3 separate regions of the Homo sapiens genome follow, and all the other regions are linked to region 1. Evidence: promoter capture Hi-C in 16 types of primary human blood cells and fetal thymus (Javierre and others, 2016). All regions are on one chromosome and are shown on one strand. Each heading gives the region's core, a stretch centred on a gene start or on the middle of the fragment in contact. The rest is flanking DNA. Distances are from core to core; before and after follow the strand shown.

What was found. The method cuts DNA at HindIII sites, captures the fragments that hold promoters and counts their contacts. A CHiCAGO score of 5 or more calls a contact.
Region 2: the fragment with the promoter of LIN7B here is called in contact with the fragment with the promoter of TEAD2 in region 1 in 10 of 17 cell types (total B cells, naive CD8 T cells, naive CD4 T cells and 7 more); the score reaches 10.6 in total B cells.
Region 3: a contact is called between the fragment with the promoter of RCN3 here and the fragment with the promoter of TEAD2 in region 1, in 7 of 17 cell types (total B cells, non-activated CD4 T cells, total CD8 T cells and 4 more). The highest score is 6.4, in total B cells.

Annotation. Positions count from the first base shown.
Region 1 is chr19:49,358,974-49,363,665 of GRCh38, reverse strand. TEAD2 (TEA domain transcription factor 2) reads left to right here and starts at 1,250. Exons shown (of 13, transcript NM_001256660.2): 1 at 1,250-1,333; 2 at 3,585-3,822; 3 at 4,167-4,231. The coding sequence starts at 3,591. It also overlaps a transcript of DKKL1 not described here. RefSeq lists enhancers at 1,457-2,165, 2,166-2,875, 3,421-3,921. The HindIII fragment of the contact is 6,430 bases long and covers 1-3,561 here.
Region 2 is chr19:49,111,628-49,116,319 of GRCh38, reverse strand. LIN7B (lin-7 cell polarity scaffold B) reads right to left here and starts at 1,950. Exons shown (of 6, transcript NM_022165.3): 1 at 1,879-1,950; 2 at 1,353-1,471; 3 at 989-1,060; 4 at 1-57. The coding sequence starts at 1,915. RefSeq lists a silencer at 1,551-2,130. The HindIII fragment of the contact is 9,910 bases long and covers 1-2,308 here.
Region 3 is chr19:49,526,185-49,530,876 of GRCh38, reverse strand. RCN3 (reticulocalbin 3) reads right to left here and starts at 2,874. Exons shown (of 7, transcript NM_020650.3): 1 at 2,819-2,874; 2 at 2,163-2,410. The coding sequence starts at 2,404. FCGRT (Fc gamma receptor and transporter) reads right to left here. Exons shown (of 7, transcript NM_001136019.3): 7 at 4,449-4,692. RefSeq lists a silencer at 2,797-2,916 and an enhancer at 2,380-2,958. The HindIII fragment of the contact is 8,718 bases long and covers 2,534-4,692 here.

The DNA.
Region 1 (4,692 bases), core at 1-2,500:
CCCACGTCAGTTGACCTCAGTCCTGGAGACCAAGTCCTGGAAGTCCTGGCGGTGTTCTCTGATTGCGGCCCTCGTTTCGGAGTCCCGCCCAATCGCAATGGCCACGCCCCTTGGCTGAAAGCCACGCCCCTGCACTGGGCCACGCCCCTGCACTGGACCACGCCCCTGCGTCCCAGATCTTGCCCTCATCACCCCAAGTTCCAGTCCTAGGCTCCTCCTACTGGAGACACCGGAGTACAAGCATCCCTTTTAGCTCTCACTCTAATTGTGTATCTGTTTCGGAACCTTTTCTCCGTGTCCCTTCTGGTTTTCCCGCTCCCGCTCCACTAAAAAGTCCCGTTGTCTCCGGAAACCCTAAATCCAGTCTTATATTTCATCTTCCAAGGAACCCAGAATCAGACTTCCTTTTCCCTGAGGACCTCAGGTCCGGACTCCCGCCCCCTCTAGTCCCGTAATTTTGAACACGCAGCCTTTCACCCTTAAGGGACCGGGCCCTAAGCCATCTTCCCTCAGGCACCAAAGCTCTCTTCCCCGTCCCGGGACAGCCGCCAGCCGTCTCCAGTCCACTAGCGCCTGTAGATGAGGAATCTGCACCTACGTGGGCCTCCAATAAACTCCCGGTGGTCCTGCCCACGACTCTTAACTGTGGTGAGGTCACAAGGAAACCAGGTCGTCATAGGAATCAGTCAAAACCCATCCCCAGACCCCAATCCTCAAAAAAAAAAAAAAACAAAAAAAACAAAAAACAAAAAAACCAAAAACCAAACAGAAAAAAAGAAAAAAAACCTCAGGGCTTAACAGTAAAGACTCTTTGTATTCGTATCACTTCCGCACCCCCAATACACAAACACGAGGGTAGCCGGGATTCCAGGCGCCTAGCCCCGTCCCCTCTCAGACCTAGGAGCCCATATCTCTCTCCAGCCGCTTCCTCTCCCAGACCCAGGAGTCCCAGCCCCCAGACCCAGGAGTCCCAGCCCCCAGCCTCTCCTCCCTCAGATCAGGGGTTTCTGGCTCCTATCAGCCTTTTCCCTCCGACTTGGAGTCCGAACCCCCAATCCCCCTCCTTTCCCAAGCACCCAAATCCTGAGTTCCTACCAGCCCCGAGATAGACTAATCTCTCCCAAAGCAAAAATCCTTCCCCAAACTGTCACCGTCGGATCCCCCTTCCCGCTGTCCGCCGGCCGGGCCCGCCCCCCCCTCCGGTCCCTCCCACTTTTCCCAAACAAAGCTCCCGGCAACTTTCTCCCTCGCAGCGCCCCGCCCGCCCGCGGCTCCCCAGCCCCAGGCCGGGAGGTAGGAAGGCGCCGGCGGGAGTCGGGGATCCTGCTTTGGGGTGTGTGAGTTGGGGTGGGGAGTTGCTTCTTAGGAGGTGAGGCGTGCGTTTGCGGGACCGTCTCTGAATGGTTCGCAGCCCTCTTTTTGCCCGGGGGCCCGAATTTGCTCCCGTGACCGAGCCTCAGTGAGGAGTGGGAACTCTGGCCGGAGTTAGGGTGCCTGCGGCTGGGTCTGAGTTTGGGCGTGCGCGCAGGAGCGGGTGCGGGCCAAGGGCGCTGGCGGGGTGTGGGGCGTGCGTCTGCGGCGGTGTCACTTTGGAGTGAGAAGGACCCCTTGTGTAATCTGGGGGGCATTTGGTCCTTCTTACGGAGAAGGGAGGGCCTCTGGGGTGGCCGAGGGGAGGTTACGGGGCTTTCTGGATCTTAAGTCTTGCCTCTTTGGAGGTTTAGGGTCTGGGGCGGGAAATTAGGGGGACCTTTCTTACCCGGCTCCACCGTCCCTTTGTCTGGCCACATGGGGAAGGGCTGGGCTGGGATTTTGGCCTACGGGGGTCCTGAACGCCGCAGCGCCACTGGGCTTGGCTGGGGTCTTTGTCTGCTATGGTCGGCGGGAGGAGGGGAATAGGGGCCTGGACTCTGGGGTCCTGGGAAAGCTGTGGAGGACATGGAGCCTCCGGGGAGGCGGGATCTGACTGTATTGGAAAAAGTTTTCCCTGTTCCCGGCCTCCGGAAAGTCACTGGGAACTTGAGTTGGATCAGAGCCCACGGCGCACGGGGGAGGGGAGGGGCGGGGCCCGGTGCCGGAGGGGAGTCGCCCTGGCCGGCAAGCCCCTCCCCTGATGGGGGTTGTGGGAAGCTGGGGGAGGGGACGCCTGGGCCCTTTGTTCTGGCTCTTCTGATGGCAGGGCGCCCCTGTCCCCCAGCTTGTGGTTCTGTGGGTCTCTCCTGGTCTCGGCCTCAGCTGCTGCCCTGAGTCTCTGTCCCTGCCCTTTCTAGGTCTCCGTCTCCCTTTCTCTGGGTCTCTGTTGCCCTCTCTCTGAGCCTCTGTCCCCCTCTCTCTGAGTCTGTGTCCCCCTCTCTCTGGGTCTCTGGTCCCCTCTCTCTCTGGGTCTCTGTCCCTCTCTCTCTGGGTCTCTGTCCCCCTCTCTCTGGGTCTCTGTCACCCTCTCTCTCTGGGTCTCTGTCTCCCTCTCTGGGCCTCTGGACCCCTCTCTCTGGTCCCTGTCCCCCCCCCCCGGTCTCTGTCCCCCTCTTTCTGGTCTCTGTCTCCCCCTCTCCCTGGGTCTCTGTCTCCCTCTCTTTTTGGGTCTCTGTCCCTCTCTCTGGGTCTCTGTCCCCCTCTCTGGTCTCTGTCCCCCCCTCCCTCTGGTCTCTGTCCCCCCCTCCCTCTGGTCTCTGTCCCCCTCTCTCTCTGGGTCTCTGTCCCCTCCGTCACTGGTCTCTGTCCCCCCCTTCACTGGGTCTCTGTCCCCTTCTCTCTCTGGTCTCTGTCCCCCTCTGTCTCTGGGTCTCTATCCCCACCTCACTGGTCTCTGTCCCCCTCTCTCTCTGGTCTCTGTCCCCTTCTCTCTCTGGGTCTCTGTCCCCCCCCCTTGCTGGTCTCTGTCCCCATCCCCTCTCTGGGTCTCTGTCCCCCTCCCTCTCTGGGTCTCTGTCCCCCTCTCTCTAGACCTCCCCTCAGTCTTGCTTGGCCCCTCTTCTTTTCTGGCAGCTGCTGCTCACATCTTACCACCTGTTCTTGGGGTGGGACAGGGGAAGTTTCACCCACACCTTCCTTCCCCACCACTAACTTTTGCCTCCTGTCTTCTTTAAAACCCGTAATTCATACCCGAACCTTTAGCCTTCATGGCCCTCGGCATTACTCTAGGGTAATCATTGTGACTTCATCACAATTGAGTTCCTCTGGAAACTCTGAGAACACTCCCATCCTCAGCTTTCCAAGAAATCCAGCTCCTTCTCCTCCCTCAGACTCAGGAGTCCAGACCCCAGCCCCTTCTCCCTCACACCCAGGAGTCCAGGCCTCCAGCCCCCGCTCCCTCAGACCCAGGAGTCCAGGCCCCAGATCCTCCTCCCTCAGTCCTAGGAGTCCGGGCCCCAGCCCCTCCTCCCTCAGACTCAGGAGTTCAGGCCCCAGATCCTCCTCCCTCAGACCCAGGAATACCCCCCAGCTCCTCTTCCCTCAGACCCAGGAGTCCAGGTCCCCAGCCCCTCCTCCCTCAGACCCAGTGGTCCAGAGTCCCAGCCCTCTCAGCTTCAAGTCCCTTGAGGGTGGGGTTTGGGGGAAGCTTGCTGAGTTCTGTGTTCCTCCAGGCCCAGATGGGGGAACCCCGGGCTGGGGCCGCCCTGGACGATGGCAGCGGCTGGACGGGCAGTGAGGAAGGCAGTGAGGAGGGTACCGGCGGCAGTGAGGGGGCTGGGGGTGACGGGGGCCCGGATGCAGAGGGGGTGTGGAGCCCAGACATTGAGCAGAGCTTCCAGGAGGCCCTGGCCATCTATCCACCCTGCGGCCGCCGGAAAATAATTTTGTCTGATGAAGGCAAGATGTATGGTGAGTCTACTTCTGTCTTTTGCCCTGGCCCCCACTGATGAATAATGACAGTAACCAAGGTTTATGGAGCACTCTGAAGTAGGAGCTAGCATCACCATTTGCACAGATGAGGAAACTGAGGCACAGCTAGGTTAAGTGATTTGCTTATGGTCGCACAGAGCCAGTGCGTGATGGAGCTGGGATTTGAACCCAAGCAGTCTGGCTTCCACGTAGCTGAGGGGACCGGCAGCCCACTTGCTGCAGACCTTTGGGGACCCATGCTGCTTTCTTCTTCCCTGGTGTCCATGCTGTGGGGAAGTTCTGTTGAAAGTCTAACTAACTCTGTTCCGTCTTTGAATCTTCAGGTCGGAATGAACTGATCGCCCGCTACATCAAGCTGAGAACGGGGAAGACCCGAACTCGAAAACAGGTCTCGGAATGGACTTGTGGGCTTCTGTCTGGGATGGGCCGGTCTTCTTAGGGTCATCCTCGCATGGGCAGGTTCAGGTTCAAGGAAGAAGCTGCTTCCTGTGCGTTCATCTGTCTTCTCGGCATGTGTGTTAGTCCGTTTGTATTGCTATAAAGAATTACCCGAGGCTGGGTTATTTATGTATTTGTTTATTTTTTGAAATGGAGTCTAGCTCTGTTGCCCAGGCCGGAGTGCAGTGGCGCGATCTTGGCTCACTGCAACCTCTGCCTCCCGGGTTCAAGCAATTCTCCTGTCTCAGCCTCCCGAGTAGCAGGGATTACAGACATGCACTACCATGCCTGGGTAATTTTGTATTTTTAGTAGAGATGGGGTTTCACCATGTTGTCCAGGCTGGTCTCGAACTCCTGACCTCAGGTGATCCACTCACCTCAGCCCCCCAAAGTGCTGGGATTGCTGGGATT
Region 2 (4,692 bases), core at 701-3,200, 250 kb after region 1:
CTCCACTACCCTGGGATGTGCGTGGCCCTCGCTGGCTGTGAAGGCAGCCACTGTGGCCTGGGAGAGAGAAAGCGACTGAAGATGAGGGCCCCTTCCAGGTAGGCATGAAAGCTGGGGTGGGGGATGTGGACCGAGGACAGCGATTTAGCCTGGGTTACTATCCCCAAGCATGGGACACTTGTCATGGCACAATGCACGATCCCCCTGTAATGACTGTGCGTCTCTTTCTGTTCACTTGCAAGAGAAAGTGTCCATTTGGTGTGTGTCTTGAATACCCCATACTTGCCAATCTTACTTTTTTTTTTTTTTTGAGATGAAGTCTCACTCTGTTGCCCAGGCTGGAGTGCAATGGCATGATCTCGGCTCACTGCAACCTCGGCCTCCTGGGTTCAAGCGATTCTCCTGTCTCAGCCTCCGGAGTTGTAATCCAGCTGGGATTACAGGCACTCGCCACCACGCTCGGCTTTTTCTTTCTTTTTTTTTTTTTTTGTATTTCTGTGGAGACGGGGTTTCACCATGTTGGCCAGGCTGGTCTCGAACTCCTGACCTCAACTGATCCACCTGCCTCGGCCTCCCAAAGTGTTGGGATTACAGGCGTGAGCCACCGTGCCTGGCCTCAATCTTACTTTTAAACAGAGGAAAGCCAGGCCTGGAGGGAGATCTGAGCCTCCGGACAGCAGCAAGAGGTAGCAGCATCTAACTATTGTGCAGTGAGAGGTCAGAGCGCCATGAGTTTCCTGGTTTGCACTGTACAGATGTTGAAGGTTATCTTCTACCAACCATGCCATACTGTTTCCATTTGCAGTTGCTAAAGATGCCTTAGTATGACATTTAAGTTAAAAATGTGCGATTATTTACTAATAGTAAGGTGGCACATAGATTTAGCAAAAATCATGAGGGAGGAAACAGAAATGACTGGCATGAAGGAGATATTGAGTTCGACTAGGCAGTTAAATAGACACCAGGAGCAATGGGGTGCGGGGCCCACCTTGGCTGTGGCATGGGCTCGGATCTCGGCGCTGCCGGTGATGTCCAGCGTGTCATAAAGCTGCTCATACACCTGGGTGAGGAGGCAGCGGCATCAGGGAGTCGCCAGCTCCTCCAGCCCTAGACGCAGGAGTTCAGGCCTCTAGACCCTCTCCCGCTACCACGCAAGGATCCGCCCCGCCCCCGCAACAGAAGGCCGAGAAAACTACAACTCCCGAAGAACCCCTGAGCTGAAGCGTTGGCACCCCAAGGCGGGCCGCCTCGGGAGCTGCCGGGAGGCGTAGTCTCCGGGCTCGGGACAAGCAGGAGGAGGAGGAGGAGGACGACGGCCACCAGCTCGCGCCCCTGCGCCGCGCGCCCCTCACCTCTCGGATAGCGGAGCAGAAGCGGCTCTGCAGAACTCGCTGGAGGGCCTGCAGCTTCTGCGGCGGCAGCTCCCCGCTGCGCTGGAGCCGCTCGAGGAGCTCAACCGCCCGGGACACGTCTGCGGGGCGGGGGCGGGGCGCAGAAACCCCGAGTGTCAGAGACCCCGAGACGCAGAGAAGCAAGGAGAGCGGCGGAGTGAGGCCGAGCGCACAGTCCGGGGAGGACGGCCGAAGCCTAGTCGGACACCCCGCAGAGTCCAGGGTGGCGCAGGAGAGACTGCCACCAGCGGCCCTGCGGCCCCGGGACCCCTCCACAGGCCGGGTTGTAAGGCGGGCGCCCAGCGTCCCGGCCCGCGCCCAGGGAGCCTCCCACACCTAGCGACCGCCCGGCCCCGGCGCCCGCCCCGCCCACCCCCTCCGGGTCCGCTGGCCCACCCGCACTGGCCTGACCCGGGAAGGGCGGGGACCGGGGGCTGGGTATGTAGGCCGCGGCCCGGGTGGGCAGGGCCCCCTGGCGCACGCTTACCCCGCTCCAGCCCCAGCGGCTCCACCAGCGCAGCCATGTCGGCGCCACAGCTGCCAGCCGCCCGCCTGCCCTGGCGCCGGCGAGGAGGGCGGGGCTGCGCGAGGCCACGCCCCGGGCCACGGGCGCCCCCTGCGGAGGCGCAGCCTGGAGAGCGCCCAGCTCTCCCTCGCCCGACTGCTCCGACCACCTGCCGCGCGCCAGCCGCGCCCTGCCCTCCGCCCCGGCCAGTCGGTCCTGTTGGCGACCCCTCCCACTGCAGGTTCGGTCTGTGTGTACCTTTCAGGATCCGTGTCTGCCTGCCCTCCACACCCGTCTATCCCCTGTCCATCCTTTCCCCACATTCATTCAACAAACTCTTGTGAAACATCTGAGCCCAAGTCATGGACACCGTGGTGAGCAGGACAGCCAAGCCCACGGCCCGAACGAAGCTTCCAGTCTATAGGGGAGGTAGACGACCAACTACGGCTGTGATGAGAGCTGAGAGTGGGGAGGTGATGATCTAGAAAACGAAGGAAATCCTAGAGGAGGGACATTGACATACAGTCCTGGGAGGTAAGATGAACAAGAGGTGGAGCTTGGGTCACCCCCACCACCCAGAAAGAGCCCACGTGGCTGGAAGCAGAGTTAGGATTGGTTGATGATGAGGTGAAAAGGTCGGCAGGATAGTTTATGCCTGGGCTCCTGCGTTGGCATATGCGCCTTGAGGATTTGGGGCTTCATGCAAACTCCTAAGAGAAAAATATGACACTCAAATTTGTATTATTATTATATTATTATTATTATTATTTTTGAGACGGAGCCTCGCTCTGTCGCCCAGGTTGGGCCTCAAATTTGTATTTTAAGATCACTGGGGCCGGGCACGGTGGCTCACACCTGTAATCCTAGCGCTTTGGGAGGCTGCAGCAAGACTACTTGAGCCCAGGAGTTCAAGACCAGCATAGGCAATATAGTGAGACCTCGTATCTATTGAAAAAAAAAAAATCACTGTAGCCACTGTGGAGACTGGTTTGGACAAGAACAAGAGGAGAAGCAGCGGGGCAACTTACGAGGCTACCACAGCCATCCAGGTGGCAGCTAGCACCAGGGCCAAAGCACAGAAGATGGGTGGGCAGATGTGGGAAATGTCTAGACAAGCCTTGGTGCTTGGCTATATAAGGGGATTGGGAGGTGCAGGAGAAGACAGTATTAAGGTGCTTTGGTGCCATTTTTAAGATGGTCTACACTGAAAGAGGGATACTGGATATTTTGTTTTTGAGACACAGTCTTCCCTCTGTTGCCCAGTCTCGAGTGCAGTGGCGTGATCTCGGCTCATTGCAACCTCTGCCTCCCGGGTGCAAGCAATTCTCCTGCCTCAGCCTCCTGAGTAGCTGAGAGTACAGGTGTGCACCTCCACACCTGCCAAATTTTTGTATTTTTCATAGAGATGGGGTTTCACCATGATGGCCAGGCTGGTCTCGAACTCCTGACCTCAAGTGATCCACCTGCCTCAGCCTCCCAAAGTGCTGGGATTACAGGCGCGAGCCACCTTGCCTGGCCGATACTGGATATTTTGAATTTGAGGAGCCTATGCAGAATCCATGGGGAGAAACTATCGATCTAGGTCTAGGGCTCAAAAGAGCAACCTGGTCTGCAGGCATGTTTGAATATTGGGGCATAGGTGGTAAATAAAACCACCGGAGTGGATAAGAATGTCAGGGGCAAGCGAATATTAAGACGGCCTAGAACTGGTCCCCAGACCTCTCTAACACTTAAAAGTCAGGAGGACAGCAGAGAATGGCCTGAAATGTAGGCAGAAACCCAGGTGGGAGAAACCATGAGAAGAGGGGTTTTTAAATTTTATCTTCTTTTTTTGTTTGTTTTAGATGGAGGGGTCTTTGTTGCTCAGGCTGGTCTTGAACTCCTGGGCTCAAACAATCCCCCTGCCTTGGCCTCCCAAAGTGCTGAGTTTACAGGCACGAACCGCTGTGTCTGGCTGCGAGTGTTTTTAAAAAGAAGTGTGGCTGGGCATGGTGGCTCACGCCTGGAATCCCAGCACTTTGGGGGGCCGAGGCGGGTGGATCGCCTGAGGTCAGGAGACCAGCCTGACCACATGGAGAAACCCTGTCTGTACTAAAAATACAAAAGTAGCCAGGCATGGTGGTGCATGCCTGTAATCCCAACTACTGGGGAGGCTGAGGCAGGAGAACTGCTTGAACCCAAGAGGCGGAGGTTGCGGTGAGCGGAGATCATGCCATTGCATTCCAGCTTTGGGAAAAACAGCGAAACTCCGTCTCAAACAAACAAACAAACAAAAAAAGTGAGGCCAGGTGTGGTGGTCACGCCTGTAAGCATTTTGGGAGGCTGAGGCGGGCGGATCACCTGAGGTCAGGAGTTTGAGACCAGCCTGGCCAACTTCATGAAACCCCATCTCTCCTAAAAATACAAAAAATTAGCTGGGCGTGGTGGCGGGTGCCTGTAATCCCAGCTATTTGGGAGGCTGAGGCAGGAGAATAGCTTGAACCCAGGAGGTGGAGGTTGTAGTGAGCCGAGATCGTGCCATTACACTCCAGCCTGGGAAATAAGAGCGAAACTCCATCTTGGAAAATTAAATAAATAAATAAAAAATAAAAAAAGGAAGTGGTCAGTGGTATCATGCTCTAGAGAGGCCGAGGAGATGTGGACAAGACTTTGGAGAAAGTTGGCTGCTCTTCTGGTTCTGCTGGGTGGCGATATGGAGTCCAGAAAAGTGCTTGTTCCAAGTGGGAGGACTAGAGCAGGTTTGTCTGGCTGTCTCCTTCACTGTAGCTCTCTCTTTAGCAAAAAGTAATGTCTTTA
Region 3 (4,692 bases), core at 1,625-4,124, 170 kb before region 1:
CGATACCCACATGGCTCAAATACCACATACCACCTTCTCATGGAGGCCTTGTCCAAGTTCCCTGTTTAAAATTGCAGCTCCAGCCGGGTGCGGTGGCTCATGCCTATAATCCCAGCACTTCGGGAGGCCGAGGTGGGCAGATCACCTGAGGTCAGGAGGTCGATACCAGCCTGACCAACATGGAGAAACCCCATCTCTACTAAAAATACAAAATTAGCCGGGCATGGTGGTGCATGCCTGTAATCCCAGCTACTCGGAAGGCTGAGGCAGGAGAATCACTTGAACCCAGGAGGCGGAGGTTGTGGTGAGCCGAGATTGCGCCACTGCACTCCAGCCTGGGCAACAAGAGCAAAACTCCGTCTCAAAAAAAAAAAAAAAAGAAAAAAAAGAAAAATTACCTGGGCCTGGGCTGGGTGCTGTGGCTCACGCATTAATTCCAGCACTTTGGGAGGCCAAGGCGGGCGGATTGCCTGAGCTCAGGAGCTCGAGACCAGCCTGGGCAACACAGTGAAACCCCATCTCTACTAAAATACAAAAAAAAAAAAAAAAATTAGCTGGGCGTGTGGGCGTGCACCCATAGTCCCAGCTACTCGGAAGGCTGAGGCAGGAGAATTGCTTGAACCTGGGAGGCAGAGGTTGCATGAGCTGAGATCACGCCACTGCACTCTAGCCCGGGAGACAGAGTCTCACTCTGTCTCCAAAAAAAAAAAAGGAAAGAAAAAAAACTTTGCTGGATGTGGAGGCGTTCACTTGTAGCTAGGACTTGTAGCGTTCACTTGTAGCTAGGACTCTAGCTACTAGGGAGTACGAGGCAGAACAACTGGTTGAACCCGGGAGGCGGAGGTTCCACTGAGCCGAGATCACGTCACTGCACTCCAGCCTGGGTGACAGAGCGAGACTCCATCTCAAAAACAACAACAACAAAAATAAAAATAAAAAATAAAAATACAAAATTAGCTGGGCGTGGTGGCTAGCGCCTGTAATCCCAGCTACTTGGGAGGCTGAGACAGGACAATTGCTTGAGCCCAGGAGGTGGAGGTTGCAGTGAGCCGAGATCGCACCACTGCACTCCAGCCTGGGTGACAGAGCGAGACTCCATCTCAATAAGTAAATAAATAAATAAATAAATAAATAAAAATTGCAACTCCCCCCCACCAACAACCTCTCCCCTCCACACTTTCTGACTCTCTTGCTTTATCTTTCTTGGATGCATTTATCTCTATTTGATCCACTTTCTACTTATTGACTTCTTGCTGTTTCCCTCACCACAGTGTAAACTTCAGGAGGACAGATGTGTTAGCTGTTGTGACTTCAGCACCTAGAGCAGTGCCTGGCACATAGCAGGTGCTCGATAAACCTTTGCAGGCTCAATCAGTGTCAGGAGGATGCACAGAAGAAGGCGGCTGCTCCCATCGCGCCCCCCTGCGCTCAGGCCTGGACGGAGAGGGTGGACAGGGCTCCATTCCACCCAGCTCACCCTGAAACTCAGGGCTCTGCCACTCTCCTGCACTGGCCGGGCTCCTTAAAGGCCAAACCTCATTTTCCACACCAGTCCCTGCCATTTACAGAGCAGGAAACTGAGGCTTGGGGAGGGGAGATGTCTGGGACAAAAGAATAAGGAGCGCTTAGGGGGCAGAATCTAACCCAGATTTTGCTGCCCTCAAAGGTCCTCTTTTTTATTGTTGTTGTTGTTTTTTAGACGGAGTCTCACTTTGTCGCCCTGACTGGAGGGCAGTGGTGCAATTTTGGCTCACTGCAACCTCCACCTCCCAGGTTCAAGCGATTCTCCTGCCTCAGCCTCCCGAGTAGCTGGGATTACAGGTGCCCACCACCACGCCTGCCTAATTTTGTATTTTTAGTAGAGACGGGATTTCACCATGTTGGCCAGGCTGTTCTCGAACTCCTGACCTCAAGTGATCGGCCTGCCTTGGCCTCCCAAAGTGCTGGGATTACAGGCATGAGCCACCACGCCCGGTCTCAAAGGTCCTCTTTAGGCCTCAATTTTAACTTAATTTCTTTTTCCCAAGGATAGAAGGTAGAATTTCATTTCTCACAAAGAAATGAAGTTCAGTCCACGCCATTTCTCTGACCCCTGTCGATACCCCCGCGTCTCTCTCCTAAGCCCCACCTCTGGACACGCCCCAACCGAATGTCTCTCTTACCCCAGACGGGCCTGGCTTTCCTCTGGGGTGAGTTGGTCGAATTCCTTGGCCACTTCCCGTCCCAGGAAAGCCTCATGGTCGTACTGGAAGTTCCCGTGGGCGTCATCATGGGGAGCGTCGCTCAGGGGGGCCGCCTGGTGCACCCTCCCCTGGCCATGAGGGCCTGCGTCTGGGGATGGCTTCCCCTGGGCCCCGTGCCTCAGTAGCAACAGAAGCAGCAGAACTGATGGTCGCCACATCATCGGTCCCTGGGGAGTGGCAAAGGCCAGGGGTCAGGGGTCACAGGGATGGGGACAGACACGGGATAGGAGAATGGCGGGGTGGAGGGGTTACCTAGGACAGGACAGGGAGTTGGAAGTTGGCTGCAAGCTTTCGGGCTCAAAAAGGGCGGGCGATGGGGGAAAAGAGGGCGGGATGCTTAGAGGTAAAGCCACCTATGGGGAGGACCGAATCTTCTGACGGAGTCTCAGGGGGGTCCCAGACCTGCCAGGGGGAATTACAGAGACAGACGTGGCGCACATCCCACGCAAGGTGCAGGGCATAGTTGTGGCCAGCGAGAGGTCAGGCAGGCTCCCCGTCATTGCTCCCAGTCCGGACCCTGGTCCTCGACCCGAGCCGCCCTCCCTGGACAGAGGCCCCCCACCCACTCCCTTTACCCTGTTATCCAGCTTCGCTCCGCTCTCCACGCTCCGCTCTGCGTTCCCGCAAATGTGCCCAATTCGGCCGCTCTCCAGTCAGGCCCCGCCTCTGGCAGCGCAGAGCCCCGCCCCCCGCCCAATGAGCTCGCACGAGCGTCTCACGGGGCGGGGCCAATGAGTGCACGGGGTGCCGCGGGCACTCCTCGCCACGTCCACAAAGGAAACCGCGGCCTGCCCGGGGAAGAAGGGTGGGCGACACCGCAGTGACGCGGCCGGGGAGAACTACAACTCCTGGCAGTCGTCGCGGCACTCTGCCGTCCACCTCCAGCTGTTCTAGTCACAACGCCTCACGGGAAATGTATTTTTCCCTTTCCCTTTGTCAGGATGGTTTAAGAAAGAGGTGTACGTTCCAACACTTCTATACCAAACAAAACAAAACAAAACAAAAATAAACAAAAAGAACGAAAGAAAAGAAAAAAGGCCGGGCGCGGTGGCTCACGCCTGTAATCCCAGAACTTTGGGAGGCCGAGGCGGGCGGATCGCCTGAGGTCGGGAGTTCGAGACCAGCCTGATCAACACGGAGAAACCCCATCTCTACTAAACATACAAAATTAGCCGGGTGTGGTGGCGCATGTCTTTAATCCCAGCTACTTTGGGAGGCTGAGGCAGGAGAATTGCTTGAACCTGGGAGGCGGAGGTTGTGGTGAGCCGAGATCGCACCATTGCATTCCAGCCTGGGCAACAAGAGCGAAACTCCGTCTCAAAAAAAAAAAGAAAGAAAAGAAAAGAAAAGAAAAGGGAGAGCAGAATCAAGGGGCCGGAGGAAATATCCCATTTCCTCCAAGAGTGAACACTGCTCCTCGCTCCTCTTCGGCTCCAAGGATTCAGGTGGTCAGACAGTAGCCAAGAATTCCTCAAAATGCCTGGCATGGCAGTCATCCAGTAAATATTTGTAAAAGTTATGAATTAAAAATACATGACCTCAGGTTGAGCACAGTAGCTCAATGCCTGTAATCCCAGAACTTTGGGAAGCTGAGGCAGGTGGATCACCTGAGGTCAGGAGTTCCAGACCAGCCTGACCAACATGGTGAAACCCCGTCTCTACTAAATACAAAAAATTAGCCGGGTGTGGTGGTGCATGCCTGTAATCCCAGCTACTTGGGAGGCAGGAGAATTGCTTGAACCTGGGAGGCGGAGGTTGCAGTGAGCTGAGATCACGCAATTGTACTCCAGTCTGAGCAACAAGAGCAAAACTCTGTCTTAAAAAAAAAAAAAAAAAGTGACCTTAGGCCGGGCGCGGTGGCTCACACTTGTAATCCCACCCCTTTGGGAGGCAGAGGCGGGTGGATCATGAGGTCAGGAGATCGAGACCATCCTGGCTAACATGGTGAAACCCCGTCTGTACTAAAAATACAAAAAATTAGCCAGGCATGGTGGCAGGCGCCTGTAGTCCCAGCTACTCGGGAGCCTGAGGCAGGAGAATGGCGTGAACCCAGGGAGGCGGAGCTTACAGTGAGCCGAGATCGCGCCACAGGACTCCGGACTGAGCAACAGAGCAAGACTCCGTCTAAAAAAAAAGAAAAAAGAAAAAGAAAAAGAAAATACATGACCTGATGTATAAAACTGGCAGGTTCCCCTGTGGCAGCATGTTACCTGTAGGAGAGATCCGAGGCCCAGCCGCCATTCAGTCCCCCGACTTATTCCCTTACCTCCCCTGCCTGAAAAATGATGAGAACACACTGATTCGGGCCCAAACTCGTGTTATATTATCGAGGTGGAAAACAGCCATATGTATTAGGAGGGGAAACTGAGGCAGACCACAGGACGGGGCTCCAGAGGGAGGACAACTAGGCCCAGAACCCCTTCTGGAGGCTCAGAGATGCCAGTGTTCC